Regions from separate parts of the Homo sapiens genome. Here region 1 is linked to region 2. Evidence: promoter capture Hi-C in 16 types of primary human blood cells and fetal thymus (Javierre and others, 2016). All regions are on one chromosome and are shown on one strand. The core of a region is centred on a gene start or on the middle of the fragment in contact, and the rest is flanking DNA. Distances in the headings are between cores, read along the strand shown.

Region 1 (4,835 bases), core at 125-2,624, 200 kb after region 2:
GTCTGCTCTGACTGCTTTCCTCGCGGGAATATTGCAGGTCCCTCTTAGCATTGATGGCAGGTCAGAATAAACCCCTGAAGGGACCCCCTGAAGGGCCACCCTAAGCCTTATGAAGTGACCTCGGAACCGCAGATTAGACTCACTCACTCCGTACAGCAGTAGTGCTTGTTATCATTCATGCACTCAGCCTCCGGAATGCCCCAACCCCCACCCCTAACCACCAAGGAAGTGCTTTGTTGCCCCTGTGACGTTTCCTACATTCTGTCTGAGCACAGAGTTTACCTGGTTGCTGTGGTATTGCAACCCTCTCCTCCCCGCATCGCTGAGAGTCCGGGTTCATTTGTCTCAACGGGGGGGTCTCAATCTCTTGTACCTGAGGCCACTGCAACGGGGCAGTGGGACGCCATCTCCTCTGGGTAGGGTGATGGAAGACCCCTTTCAGAAAGAGAATGGGGATCTCGGACGAGCCCCCAGAATTGTTGGATATAAAATGCTTTAGGAATAAATGCTTGATGCCGTGAAGTGAAACCAGCACTCAGCAAGGCAATTTACTTCTGCAGAAGGGTGCTACCTGCATCAATCAAGATCTCACGAGCACACTGAACAAAGACGACCAGGGGCTTTTTTTATTCTTAACATAGTCCCTACCTCTGTGTCACTCCCCCATCAGCTGGGTCGGACCACACAATCTGAGCTGACCCGATTGGCAACTTGTACATATTTTTCTAAATATAGAAGGGGACGGGGATGTGAGGTACAGAGGTGGACCGTGTGAGATGTGCAGTTTCAGGGGAACAATGACTACAGGTAACCAAGGGAACAGATGTGAGTTATTGATTAGAGCTGACAGGAAAGGGGTAGGCTGTTTGACAGTAACTAGGGGCAAGGAGGAACAGGAAAGTTGAGTTTGAGAACAAAAGACAAGGAAGTTAGCAGGCTAAATCCCTGAAGAGAAACTCAGAGAAATTCACTGTGTCTTACATATGTAAACCCATCTTCAGCAGCTTCATGCGTTATGTAGTTTTTAGCAGATATGCCCTCTTAGAATAACTACTCGCTTTGGAAGTAGACACTTGTGCTTTCTCAGCAGATTTTGTCATCTACCTTTCATGGGGTCATGAATATTACTATGGCCCCATCACGGATGGTATATATTGGCAAAAAATATATATTTTGCAAGTTACACTCTTACCACTTTACTTTTTCAACATAAGTTCAAGTCTTACTTTTTAAGTAAACGTGCACTTTCACCTTTTGAGCTCATTGCTGCTATAGGGTTTATTGTAAAATTTTAAAAGTATAACCTAACATTAGAAAAGTAAATAGCTATAGCTCCTACTGTAAAACAGTCATCCACTATAATAAGAGCCCTCTGACTATCTCTATAGGCAGGACTGCTTGGCCTCTGTTTCCTATCTCACATGTTTCTTTTTGACCTTATCAGGTGGTAGCCTCAAGCCCTTGGCTATTTCACAGGACATGAACAAGTGACTGACAGGAGCAACAGCAACGAATATGTCTCACTACCACTGAAGCCAGTTAGCTGGTCCTGGTCACTTGTGTCTTTACACAGTTTATTAGAAGCCCACTCCATGCTGTCTAGAAAGGGAATATTACATATATTCTAGAATCAGCTGGGAAAGGAGGATTGGGTTATCTATTACTGCTCAACTTTCAGATGTAACTACCCGTTTATGTGTGAACTTACACCTATATTTATGCACTACAGATGTCACAACAGAAGATAGAAGTACAAAATGGGGGGTCTTCCTATTCCTGCTCATTTTCATGCAACTATGAATGATGATAGTACATTGTTTAAAAAGTTACTGGCCTGGCATGGTGGCTCACGCCTGTAATCCCAGCACTTTGGGAGGCCCAGGTGGGTAGATCATGAGGTCAGGAGTTTGAGACCAGCCTGGCCAACATAGTGAAACCCCATCTCTACTAAAAGTACAAATAATTAGCCAGGTATTGTGGCGCATGCCTGTAATCCCAGTTACTTGGGAGGCTGAGGTGGGAGAATTGCTTGAACCTGGGAGGCAGAGGTTGCAGTGAGCCAAGATGATGCCACTGCACTCCAGCCCAGGCGACAGTGTGAGACTCTGTCTCAAAAAAAAAAAAAAAAGTTCCCAACAGAGGTAATGCTAAACCAATAGATCAATAGATGTAACAGGAGCTGTCCTGGGCAAGCTGGGATGTGTGGTTTCCATACTTGCAAGTCACTTTGCCAACTCTATCCACTCTGCTTGAACTCTAAATATTGGAGTGCTCTGCTGGGTACTGGGACCCCTTGACTTCTCCCTGGTTGCTCTCACTTTGACTGATACTGAAACTCTCAAATCTGTATCTCTACTCCCTAAAAATTAAGACTTAAATACCCTACAACCTACTTATATCTCTGCTTAGATATCTAGTGAAATCATCTTACACAGCTCTATGTGTCTCTGAGTAATGAAACACTCAAAACTTAGTGGTGTAAAACCATAACGATTTCATTATGTCCAAGGATTCAGTGGGTAAGAAATTTGGACAGGTCAGAGCAAGATTTGTTTATTTCTGTTCTGTGATGTCTGGGGCCTCGGCTGGAAAAACTCAAACAGCCAGGGTGACTTGAATGGCTGGGGACTAGACTTATCTGGAGGTTTCACTCTCATGTTTGGCGTCTGGGCTGGGATGTCTAAAAAGCTGGGCTCAGCTAAAACTGTCAACCAGACCACCTATATGGGGCTTCTTCATGCGGCTTGGGCTTCTTTTTGTGGCAACTGGGCTCTAAGAGAGGCCCAAGAGGGACCATCCTGAGAGCAAGTGTTTCTCTGCAAAGCTTCCTCTGACCTATCCTTGAAAGTTAGGCAGCATCACTGCCACAGCCTTCTACTGGATATAAGCAAGTCTCTAAGGCCAATGCAGATTTATAGGAAAGGGATGCGACTACACCTCTTGATGGGTGAACAGCAAGGTCACATTGCAGAGGAGCATTCTGGCCACTTTGGAATATACAACCTGCCATACACCCCTAATATGGCTAAAACAGAACTCTATTTCTAATTCACTCATTTCCTTGAATAAATAAAACCACATCTGCCCAATTGCTACAAACTCCAAACCTAGGAATTATTCTTGCTTCCTCTCTTTCTTGCACGCCCCACATTTAATGCACCATCACCACATCATCTCAACTCTACTTCCAATGCATCTCTCAAATACGTTCACTTCTCTGCATCCCTGCCACCACCACCCTGTGGCAAGCCACCACCGTTTCTCACCTAAACCACTGCAATAGCCCAGGAACTGATCTCCTTGTTTCTATTCTTGTTCCCTATAATCTATGTGCTACACAATAGAGAGATTAATACATTTAAAATGTAAATTAGATCATACCACTCCCCTGCATAAAACCTTACTCAGAAGTTAGAATAAAACCCAGATAAATGTCTTCCCCTGGCTTTGACAGTCTTACATGATCTGGCCTCAGGTCTTGACTCCAGCTTCATCTGGTCACCATTTGACCTATCATCTACTCAGTCTCACTCGTATTCACTTTCTTTCCATTTCTCAAATACTCTCAAGGGCTTTATCTCCGCTGTTTCATTTTCCTGGAATATTCGCTGCATTTTGCATGCTGGCCTATTGTCATTTAAGTCAGTTTAAATGTCACTTCCTTGTGGCATATCCAATCTCTTAATATAAAAGTAGCCTATCAGATCACTGCCCTATTCCCTAATTTATTTCACTAATTTAAAACACAATAAGATATAGCAATGTGACACGTAACTTTCTCGTCCATGATAATGAATAAAAAGGCTATAGTTGTATTTTTTACTATTCACATTTTCTTAATTATAGTTCTTTCCTTATTATCAGACACTCCTGTATTCCCCCTTAAAATGACAGCTTCCTAGGAACAGATGCCTTCTCTGCAGACCAGTTCCTGGAAAACCTGCTAACACATCATAGGAGTACAATATTTGCTAGATGATTTGTTGCCTGAAAGTGCTGGTTAACTTACCCATTGCACAGTAAGTGACAAATACATTTCTTTTATAATAATAACCTTATTATTTTAGGTTCCTTAATTTGCTAATAAAGGAACTGAAGCCAGAATGGTCATTTGTCCAGTGTTACAAAGATAGTTGGCAACATCTTTATGACTAGATTACCTTAATTGCTAAAAACAAAAGTACTGCTTTCATACTAAGAAATGAATCTTTTAAAGTCATCTTTTGTTGAGCACCCACTTCATAAATGAGCTGAAGCTGTGATATCTAATTGTAATACTTACTGGCAGTGTGGCACTGGGCAAGCCATGTGGGAGTGTAAAGTCTGGGATTTCTCATTAGGAGACTTCTAAGGACCCTTCCAATAATAAGGATTCAATGACACTATATAGAGACATTCATTTCTTGGGACCTCCCTCACAGGGAAAGCTGAACATGTTACGGGAATGAAAACATCCCTCCCTTACTTTTGTCCATCTTATTTTATCATTCCGTCTCTAATTATAGAATACCATACTTGCACTCCATGGGTGAATGTCCAAGATCAGAAACACATCCTGAAGCAGCACTTTCCTTGGAATACGTGTGACTCCATGAAAAAAGGTCAAATATGATTGGGAAATGCCAAGACCATTCACAGGCACACTAATATTAAAGGATTTGAGAAATTCCTCAGTGGTACTCCCTTGCCCACTTTTATTTTGAAACAGGTTCTCACTCTGTCCCACAGGCTGAAGTGCAGTGGCACAATCATAGCTCACTGGAGCCTCAACCTCCTGGACTCAAGCAATTGTCCAGCCTCAGCCTCCTGAGTAGTACATTGTTTAAAAAGCTGGA
Region 2 (4,858 bases), core at 1,190-3,689:
AAGGAAAAAAAAAAGAATGTTTCCTAGTTCCAGAACTGACAACTAGAGCCTAAATAAATACCTGGACAAGGGTAAATATGACCTCAAATTTATAACCGCCCTGAACGCAGAACATCAACCGCGACAGCTGTGGCATCAGCGGCGACAGTAATTTTCTCCCTGGCATTCAACCAGAGGGCAGTTGGACTGTGCACCGACTGCACTAGTGGTGGGTAGCCAAAGCTAGCCTCCAAAGTGAACCACGGTCTGGGGCCTGGTCCCGTTTGACCGAAAATGCTATCCAGAACCCCCACCGAGCTGCAGGCCCTTCTTCCTGATTGAGCTAGAGGTGAGTGAAGACAGGGTCTGGGGTAGGGAGGGGCGTCCACGCCAGCTTGCCCATTACCTGCCGGCCTTGGTGATGATCATCTCAGTGCCTATCTCATGAAAGCGCTTCCAGAGCTCGGCTCCCTGCAGATCCACCCGCGGGGCCTGCGGCGAGGGCAGAGGGGTCCCGGGCCGGGCCAGGGAGCGCGCCGGAGACCCCTTGGGGGAGCCTCCCGGTGACGCCAGAGGGGAAGCTCCCTGCTGGAAGCCGTCCTCACAGCCGCCTGGACAGCAAAGGACAGAGAAAGGGAACTGGTGAGGGAAACAGAGGGGAAGCCAGCCGCGGAGACGGGCCCACCTGGTGGCTGAGAAGAGGAAAATGACCGGGAGAAAAGGGGAAGCTTTGGTGCCATCAGGTCCTCCTAAAGAACAAGCCAGTCGATAGACACCCACATTCTGCCTGTCGAAGGGGCGCATTCAGAGCTCCAGTGTGGCCTGCTTGGTCCCCAAGTCCCAAGCCCGGGAGAGGCGCGCGGGCAGCGTCCACCCCACCCGCTGGGCCTCCGCAGGGCCAAGGCCCCAGCAGAAAAGGCTTCACGCCGCCGCCGGGGTCTGGGACGCTTGCCCGACGGAGTCAGAGGAGCTCCCGGGTCCAGAGTCCCCAGTGCAAACTCCGACGCAACCTGCGCCTCGAAGCGCAAGCAGCAAAAGCGCCCGGACTCTGGTCCCAAGAGCCTGGGCCTCCTTAAGCCATAAGCGTCTGCGGCGCCTCGCTTTGGGCCTTCTTTTGGGCCGGGCCGGAGGCATCTTCTAGAAGGCTCTTCAGACCCCGCTTTCGCCAAACTCCCGGCGCCCTGCGCTTCCAGCCCAGCAGAGAAAAGTGTGAAAAGCAAGCCCGCGGTCGCCGTCGGCCTTGGCAGAGAAATCAAGAGGAGAAGGGAAGGGAACCGCTCAACTACCCTTCGGGAAACCAAGTTTCCAAATATGCCGCCCTCTTCCTGGTTTGCACAAACGGTTTAGGGCATTCGTTCCGGTTTCAGGGTGGGGTATGCCGTCGCTCCCCTCCTCCCCGCCCTGTGCTTTTAAAAGTTAGGAAACAAAAAAGAGCACCCATTGGCTGGAACCCCAAGGGAGGCAGATGCAGGAAGCACAGAGCTGCACCGCTAGGCGCAGCAAACAGCCGCGGCCGAAGGCGCGGGTCGCCGAGTGGGCGGCGGCCGCCCGCGAGGCGAGCCTGGAAGCAGTATCTGAACCGTCTGGAGGGTGACCAGGTTGCGCGGCGAGCTTTGCGACTGACACGGCCAATGCGCTAGTGGCTGAGTGGCCTTGGCCATGTAGGGACGCGGCGCGCACGCACACCCACAGACTCGCAGAAGTTCAGGTTCGCGCCGGAGAGAAGTTATAGGCAGGAAGGGGCCCACTCACCCGCGGCTCCGCGCTCCAGGTCTGCGCCACTCCGAGCCGGCCCAGACGTCGCCCCAGCCGGCGGCGGGAGCGCAGCGCCTTCGTCTCCCTCAGAAGAACCCTTTTCGCCCGCGCCGCCGCCGCGGCTGCAGCCTCCGTCGTCCACGGCCCCCGCCGCCTCTTCGGCGCCCAGTTTTCGCCGCTTCTTCTGAAGCTGTTGCTGCTTCTCGGCGCCGATCAGCGCCTCCACCGAGAAAGCGTGCGCCTTGAGGCTTAGCATGCTGCACGGCGAGCCCCTTCGCTTCTCGGCCATCCCCCCCGCCCCGCGCCCGCCCGCCCCTCTCTCATATACACTCACGCGGGCACACGCGCGCTCTCGCTCTTCCCCCACCAAAAACTAAAAGGCTCTCGGGGCCTCCCGAGATCTGCCCCCTTCCCCACCGCGGGCAAAAAACAGATTTGGCGTTTCCGCTTTCTCGCTTGTGTTGGGATCCAGGAACCGGCGACGCGCCGGCCAAGTCTCCTTTCCTGGGTCTCTCTCGCGCGCTCTCTCACTGATGCACTCCTTTGCTCCCACCCCTTCCACCTCCTCCTGCTGCTCCGAGGTCTGCCTCAACTGATGCGCCAGAGAGGACTAACATGGGTAAAAAACACTCTGTGGACACAAATTAGGGATTGTAATTGAAATTTGTTGCCTTGATCTGTCAGCACTTCCAGGCAGGAGAGCGGTGGGAAGAACTTGCTCATTAGTGTCAATAAAGCGGCGGGGGCGGAGCCCGGGTCCCTGTCCATCACCCAGACGGCCGGCCAATCAGGAGGCGCCGACTCCGCGCAGCCCGCGCCCACTTCCTTACAAGGTAGCGAAAAACCAGGAGTGAAAAGCGCCGCTGTCTGGCTTGGATGTGCCAGCCACACGGACGCTGAACTCTGTCTCTCTGACGTCCGTAGCTGAGTCCAGCCCCGTAGTCTCCAGCTTTCCTCACCAGGACCTGGAAAGGCGGAAGTTCCCGGCTTTAAACTAGACGTTCAACAAGTTAGAAAATCAGGAATCTTTCAAGGTTCCGTAAATTGCCGTCCCACTTCCGTATCGCTTAATGTTGCTACAACTCAGAATATTGGGAAGCTGGGAAGAATTCGCAGGCCCCTCCTTTCTCATTTAAATGTTCCTGCACTCAGTCTGCGCCAGATATGGCTTAGGCTTATTTAAACTTTACTCCGTGATTTTTTTCTTAGGGGATACCAGGTTAAGAAATATGTAAATCCTTTAGGAGTGCAAAATGTTACGTTAACGCTCAGTCCGTCATATAAATGTCAGAAAAAGCACGCCCTTTCCGCAGCCCACCTTTTCTTTCAAAGAGTGGTAGTTATTTTAAAACGTAGGTCATGGGATTTTCATTCTGTACGTCTTTAACGATATGGACAACTTTAAAACCCCTTAAAACTTCGCAAAATGAAATAAGTATGAAGACGCAATAAAATTCCCCATTTGAAAAACTTCTCTGTGATTTAAGTAAGTTTATATTTGTCCTACTGTTGACAATTTACAATCGTTACTTCAGGCTTTTAAGGAGTCCATTGATGTATTTAAAACAAATTTAATAAAATCAGTGCTTTTTAATTAAATGACACCAAACATATATATTTGTACAATTTGTTTTGTAGTTTCAACTCGACTTTTTGTTAGGATTAACAAATATATATATATATGTTTGGTATAAATAGAGCAAATCTCTTGTGGAATAAAATTAATCGTGCATATTACTCCATCTTTTGTATAAAATACACGGCAGGCCGGGCGCGGTGGCTCACGCCTGTATTCCCAGCACTTTGAGAGGCCTACGCGGGCGGATCACGAGGTCAAGAGATCGAGACCATCCTGGCCAACATGGTGAAACCCCCGTCTCTACTAAATAAATAAATAAATACAAATAGTAGCTGGGCGTGGTGGTGCACGCCTGTAGTCCCAGCTACTCGGGAGGCTGAGGCAGGAGAATCGCTTGAACTCGGGAGGCGGAGGTTGCAGTGAGCCCAGATCGCGCTACTGTACTCCAGCCTGGCGACGCAGCAAGACTCCGTCTCTGTCTCTCTCTCTGTCTCCATATGTGTGTGTGTGTATATATATATATATATATATGACAAAGGAATTTTTTCCTCTCCCTCGTCCCTCGTTTAATTCAATCTCCGCAACCGTTGGCTGCCCTTTTATCTCTGACTTCTCTGTAAACTTTCAGTAGAGTAGCATTTGGGGGTAGATCCGCCACTGAGACTGATCCTTTTATTGTAGAAGAGAACGCGCGGTTCCTGGAGGCCGGACACCACAGCGGGAGTAGGAACCTGGCAGGCGATGAGCAGAGGCACGAGCAAGCCGCCCAGCCAAACCTGGCAGCCTTGAGGTCAAAAATGATTTTGTAATATCCTTGCGGAGGAAGCCTCTTTTAGACGCCTGAGAAACAAACTCAGTTGGGAGGAGGTGTTTTGCATTTTACAAAATGAAGGCTTTGCGACCGGTTTAGAGCTGTGTGGTCCCTAGTGGGTCTCCAAGCTCCGGGGTACCCTAGGCCGGTATTACATCATTAAAAAGAAGCGCAAATCCCATTTCTGAAGCTTAGCCGAAGGCAGGCGCCGGCAGGGAGAGCTAAGAGGCCGCCTAGAGAGTTTGGGCCGGGAGTGGGAGTGGGACAAGGCGGGAGCTAACTTAGCTGGAGTAGACGCCAGAAGAAGTTCCGTTCAGCTGAGGTGCCCCGCCCCAATCCCAGGCTCTCGGGGACCCCAAGAAGGGAGCTACCCGGTGCTTCTCCGAGCGGTCCTTACAGCTTTGGAGACTCTGCTGCTGCCCAGGGGTGTAGTCGTCGGAGCCCTCGGGCCTGCTGGGGCTCAGCAGGGGTAGTGGGAGCCCCTACCCTGGGAGAAACTGCCAGGGACAAACACTGTTTGCTGACGCAAAGCCTGTTCCGCAAAGGAGTTCTCCCTGTATATGTCCTGCAGCTCAAACTGATTTAGAAAGGGATACACAGGCCTGCAAGGCGCTCTCGGGATCATACAGCCTCACGCCCTCTTCTTTTCCTCTGCCATTTCTTTATGTCTTTCGCCTTCACCCTGGGCAGCAGACCCCAGCAGGCGGGGAAACCCGGGGACTGGTGTCCGCATT

Evidence for each region. Contacts are between HindIII fragments. The CHiCAGO score rates a contact against its expected background, and 5 or more counts as called.
Region 1: a contact is called between a fragment that was not itself captured here and the fragment with the promoter of TBX18 in region 2, in 1 of 17 cell types (endothelial precursors). The highest score is 6.5, in endothelial precursors.

The regions. Positions count from the first base shown.
Region 1 is chr6:84,967,618-84,972,452 of GRCh38, forward strand. LOC105377881 (a long non-coding RNA gene) reads right to left here and starts at 187. Exons shown (of 3, transcript XR_942746.2): 1 at 148-187. The HindIII fragment of the contact is 2,896 bases long and covers 1-2,822 here.
Region 2 is chr6:84,762,159-84,767,016 of GRCh38, forward strand. It overlaps TBX18 (T-box transcription factor 18), which reads right to left and starts at 2,440. Exons shown (of 8, transcript NM_001080508.3): 1 at 1,732-2,440; 2 at 386-590. The coding sequence starts at 2,023. LOC124901353 (a long non-coding RNA gene) reads left to right here and starts at 183. Exons shown (of 2, transcript XR_007059666.1): 1 at 183-328. RefSeq lists enhancers at 1,173-1,757, 1,758-2,341, 2,353-2,647. The HindIII fragment of the contact is 3,607 bases long and covers 706-4,312 here.